Linked DNA regions of Homo sapiens: region 1 is linked to region 2. Evidence: promoter capture Hi-C in human tissues and cell types (Jung and others, 2019). All regions are on one chromosome and are shown on one strand. The core of a region is centred on a gene start or on the middle of the fragment in contact, and the rest is flanking DNA. Distances in the headings are between cores, read along the strand shown.

Region 1 (2,700 bases), core at 181-2,680, 240 kb before region 2:
ACCTTGGTGAATGAATGTTCCATGGGCACTGGAAAAAAGTGTCTATTCCGTTTTTTTTGGGTGGAATGTTTTATATGTCAATTGGGTACTGTTGGTTAATTATATTTTTCAAATATTCTATATCCTTGATGATTTTCCATCTAATAGTTTTCTCATTTGTTGAGCAATCAAAAGCTCTTTAGTTTTAAAAAGAGGCTTTTTGGAAGAATCATCATCCTCAATAATAAACAGTTAAAGATCAATTTCAAAGCAACATGTGCTTTCTTTCCTTCTAGGAATATCTCTGTTGTTTCCAAACTCAGGCTAGAATCAATCAGTGGTCACTCTTTCCTTTTGCAAATAACCCAAATTATATTCTAGATTCTTTATTTTGGATGCAGCTGAATAACCTTCCAACCTGACTTATATTTATAGGTTGCTATTTTCTTCCCGTATATTTACATAGTCTGCTAGTTATTCCCCATACTGCCAAATGTCTTCTGAAATAATCAGCTGTCAGAGGTGAGAAAAATCTGTTAACACATGATGTGTGGCATAGCACAGAGCTGTGATTAAAAAATGATCTGGAGTATTAAAAATTCAAGCTGTCCTCTTCTAGCTAAGCTTTAAGCAAGTGCTAGTCACCTGCCCAAGGTCATTTGACTTTTGCCAGATTCTCTGTACTTTGAACGCTCTTGTAATACTTCTTATGTGGCACCATTTACAACTTCCTTGCATACCGTCTAGATATTTTACATGGAACTGCTAAGTAAACTGTGCTTAATGTCTTGGATCCATCCAGTCTCTTGGGCCAGAGCTCTGGGAATCCCTAATCGGCGGTTTCTCTGTTATTGCACACATTGCATGTATCTCCTGTGGATTCTGCCTCCAAAATTCCTTTCAAATTTATCTCTTTCTCCTCATCTCCACTGCCATTGGCTTGGTTCAGGCCCTCATCAAGACTTTCCTGGATAATTCCAATAGTATGCACACTGGACTCACCTTGCTTTAATTCATCCTCCATGTTACTACTGTGAGAATAATCTAAATATAAATGAAATCACATTTCTCCTCCTTTAAGTCCTTCTATAAATCTTCTCATAGGTACTGGGATCAAATTCAAGCGATAAGTTAGCTGACAGATATTTGCCTACCTCTCTAATCTCATTTTCACCAACCTCCCTTCTGTGCTTATTTGCAGCCACTTAAACTGCAATTACCTTAAGTTTATGCTATTTATTGCCCTATGCATTAGCAGTTATTGTTGCTTCTGCCTTACATGAATTTTCTACTCATCCTTCAAGACCTAGGTCAGGCATCATCCCCTCTAAAATGGCTTTCTGGTGTGGGTTGGATGTTTCTCTCATGTTCCACAGCATCTTCTACATGATTCCTTCCATATGAGATGCAGTATTGCATTGTGTTGCGGGCTCTGAAGCCACAGTATGTGAGTGTAAGTCGCCCTTTTTAATTTTTTTTTTTTGACAGAGTGTTGCTCTCTCACCCAGGCTGGAGTGCAGTGGCGTGATCTCGGCTCACTGCCACCTCTGTCTCCTGGGTTCAAGCGATTCTCCTGCCCCAGCCTCCCAAGTAGCTGGGATTACAGGCCTGTGCCACCATGCCCGGCTAATTTTTGTATTTTTAGTGGAGACAGGGTTTCCCCATGTTCACATGCTGCTCTCAAACTCCTGACCTCAGGTGATCAGCCTGCCTCGGCCTCCCAAAGTGTTGGGATTACAGGTGTGAGCCACCGCGCCCGGCCATAAATCAGTTTTTTAAAATGACTACCTGTGTGACCTCTGCAAGTTTTTTAGCTTTTTTCATTCCTCAGTTTCCCTGTCTGTGAAGTGATAACAGTATCTGTCTCATGTGGTTGCTTTGGGTTTTATATTGAGGTGACAAACATGGAGTCCTTAGAATTATGCCTACATGAGAGTCAGACGCTCAATGCATGTCAGCCGTTCCCAGTAATTTATTTTCTTTTCAGTTTGCTGTTTCATAAGATCCTAAACTTTCAAAGGGATGGAACTAGTCTTTGTTTTCTCAGCATCTAGTGCAAAGAAGGCATTCAATACTTTGTGAATGCATAAATGAACTATAAGCACCATATGTAAGGTGTTATTTTACTTGGTGATACTTTCCTATTCCCCAGTACTTTCTGACACATTTAGCTCATACAAGAACAAGCTAGCAGTGTGCATAGCAAGTCTTTAAACAATTATAGTAAATTATAGCATATATATTATATAAGATAGTATATTATTTATTTCCAAAGCAAGGTTTCTTAAGTTAGAGAAGAATAATCTGTAAATTTGATAGAACTTTATTGTTTGGGTGATTTGTTTTGAAAAGTCAGCATTGTTCTTTCTTGTTGGTGTGTGGCATCTTCTATGATACCATGTGCCACTAGCTTCAAATTATGACAAAATCCACATATTGTTCATGTTGTTGACATAGGGGAAAATTCTGTTTCCTATCTTCTTTGAATCTCTCACATATTTTTGCATTTTACACAATGTTTCATAATCATATCATGTGTGCAATAGACTAAAAACAAGCAAGCTCCTGCCATCTCCCTGAGAAAAGGCTGCTAAGTGGCACAAGATTTCATTTTCTAGCAACATTGTCTGGCAAATATATAAGACGTTCATCTTCCTCCATTTCTAGATTAATATGTTTTATTTAATAAAACTAACCACATTGTGTAGCAGTCCATAGTCT
Region 2 (3,013 bases), core at 209-2,708:
GTGCCAGTGTTGGTGCTGTGGCGGATGCAAGGAATGGGACTCTGCTCTGGCTTGTGCACACCTACCGAGTAACAAAATCTTCATGTCTCTCTCTGATACATGCACACATATTCAGATAACTAGATAGACAGGGAGATAGATAGATATATGGATAGATTAGATAGATAGATGATAGATAGATAGATAGATAGATAGATGATAGATAGACAGATAGATGATAGAAAAATATCTGTCAGAATAAAAACATAATCCTATAGGCCAATAAGGACTCAATCAAAATCTTACAGGGTCACTGAATCAGAATCATTCTTCCCCTGAACTCACTTTCATGACTCTTTGCAATCAGGTGTATCTGTCCACCCCATTTTTTTCACAGTTGGGTGAAATGAGGAAGTAGTGTAAGGCTGGTTTTTCTTTTGCTGCCACAAAGGTCTACATAACTGCTGGTTCCTGTTCACAGTGAAAATGGTCCTAACCAGATGAATAAGGGACACAAGAGACATAACACAAATCAGAGAAGTTAAAACCAAGCTTATTCCTAAGTGCAACTAGCCTAAGCAAGCTCATGCCTGCCTGCTGAAGCCCCAAGTCTTCTACCTTGATAAAGGTTACTCCCTCCATTTTAACTGCTCCTGCCTCCCCTATCTTTTTTCGAACACCATGGCTGATTTATCTAAACCCTATGCTGCTTCACAGTATTTTGAAAACAAATTAGAAATCTCCTTCCAGTTTTCCAGAGGTGATTAAATCCAAGACGCCTTAGGAATGTAGAGGATAGAATAATATAAACAACAGATCTGAGATAACCATGGCCGGCAGCAGTTGTGGTTAGTTGCTTCTTTTCCTTTTTCATCCATCAGTGATGGAAGCTGGATTGGGTCCACTGTATAAAGTTCGGTGGGCATAAATCTGCTATTTGATCCTGGAAAAACTCTAAGGATCTAGAGTCAGCGAGGAATTGCAGCAATGCTGGTGTTTCAAAGGGCCTAAGAAAAGCCAGGAGTCCTGGCTGCCCAGCCCCGACACTGTCTTACAGGCTGCAGGTTTACCTTGGTTAGCACAACAGGCCAAGCTCTCCCTTGCTCTAAGTCGACATGACATGATTTGTTCCCTTTCGGCTGTGTCAGTTCTGCAAACCAGATACCAGAGGCTGCAGGCTCAGGAGAGCCTGCCTGTCTGGAACACCGTTTGTTTGGACAGGACAGGCCACTAAGGCGTTTCATCTCTTTAAAGCTCCCAGGGCAGAGAACATATTTGAGGAATTCCTTTTTTCAAAGATTTTTTTTTTTTGCCCCTTCCAACATTTTGTTTAAGAGAAAATGAGATGTCTATCTTCTGTTTCCTTATTTTTTTTCAGGAAAGCAAAGGGTTGTTGACTTCCTCCCTCTCCCCTCCCTTCCTTCCTTCTTCCCGAAGGTACTCATCTGAGAAAAAGAGAACGAAGTATTGTTCCTGTTCTCTTTCTTAAGTCATTCGAAACACTGTCCCTGCGAGTTCTTTAAGTTCCCTGCAATCTGTACACAAGAGAAAGAGGGAGAGAGAGAGGGAGAGAGACAGAGAGAGCAGGGATCAGGTAAAGGAGTGGGGCTGCTGCAGCCATTCAGACCTCAGGAGCTGGTAAGTTACCCATGCAATCATTTCTGCTTCCTTTTCAAGGTTCCTGGGTGGATACTGCTGTGGGCATCTTCAACAGAAAATACCTTACTGGGAGTAGTCCTTAACCAAAGGGTATAAGTGATAGATGGCCCAGAATTTCAGCTAATACTTTTTTTTGGTAAGAGAATACTGATGCTTTGCAGAACTAAGGCTGGCAAAACTAGAAATAGAATTACATTGGGACTAAAGAGGACACTGCGTTAAATCTGAATTTTGGCACAGATCATGTGGCTGGGAGAACCAGGAGCCACTGGCGTGTGAGATGTGTCCCACTGGAGAATTTGCTCTTCCTCAGTACTGTGTCCTGGGAGCCTTATCAGGGTGTCTGTTAAGGACTGTGGTTTGCTCTGGGGTTTTTGTTAATACGTTACCTGGATTGAGGTGCCCTTCTCCTGTTCTTTTCTTTCCATTCAGCATCCCCCTAAAGGAGGATTGTTAATTGTTATATGATGGTTATTCTGCATCACTGAAGTAGAAGGGAAAGAGAGAAGGGAATGTCACTTGGAAATAGTTCTGCATGTGGGGAGCTTATGTGTTCAGGTTCCCCATGCGGGTTGAGTGTAAATTTATTATTCACTGTCAGTGGAAGATGTCATCTGCCACATGATAGAAGGCAAAGGTTTTGGGGCATATAGCTTTAGTTTTGGAAAACAATATGCAGCTAGAATGGGAGGATTAAGATGGATCATTTATGTCAGTAGGAGGGAAAAACTAAGTTACAGACGCAATTGAAAAGCATTCACCCAGTGCCTGGTTTTCCAAGCACCAAATAGGGCGTAGCAAGCTAGTCAAGCTAACATACACAACTAGTTTTTAAAAGTCTAACTTGCTTCAATTAGATTAGTCATAAAGGATAATGTTACCAGCACCTATCATCGCAAGCCATGAGGGAGCCGAAATCATGTTGTCAAAAATAGGTCAGCAAGGTCACTCCGAGAGACTCGTTATGTTTCCCAATATTAATACTTTAATTCAGAGAGATGCCGAATGGGTAAAAGCCAATGGCCAAGCATACTTTTTAAAAATATTCACTGCTATGAAATTTACTGATTGAAATCACCTGGGATGTGAAGAATAAGATAAAAATAGCTGGACTCTCATTTTAAAAATTAATTTGGCTAGACTATGCTTTAACCACATTCAAGTAATTAATCTTTATTCAAAATTGAACCATCATCTTACTAAGGATGAGAAAACATGACAGAACTAGACTGTGATGTAGCTTTTGTTCCATTAGTCAGACCTCTTTTTTCTTCTCCTTTTTTCAAGGATTTTCTTTAGGAGCATCATAAAACGAGCAATGTAAAGAGACGTGAATAGCGTTTGCCAGCTTGCGGATGCAAAATTATTCTAATAA

Evidence for each region. Contacts are between HindIII fragments. The study calls those that stand out against the background at their distance.
Region 1: a contact is called between a fragment that was not itself captured here and the fragment with the promoter of ZNF366 in region 2, in 2 of the 25 tissues and cell types used here (IMR-90 fibroblasts and aorta).

The regions. Positions count from the first base shown.
Region 1 is chr5:72,742,292-72,744,991 of GRCh38, reverse strand. All of the region lies in intron 5 of TNPO1-DT (TNPO1 divergent transcript), which reads left to right. Among named protein-coding and RNA genes, the nearest start is that of TNPO1-DT, 73 kb to the left of the region's middle. The HindIII fragment of the contact is 3,416 bases long and covers 1-2,700 here.
Region 2 is chr5:72,505,855-72,508,867 of GRCh38, reverse strand. ZNF366 (zinc finger protein 366) reads left to right here and starts at 1,458. Exons shown (of 5, transcript NM_152625.3): 1 at 1,458-1,617. The HindIII fragment of the contact is 10,357 bases long and covers 1-3,013 here.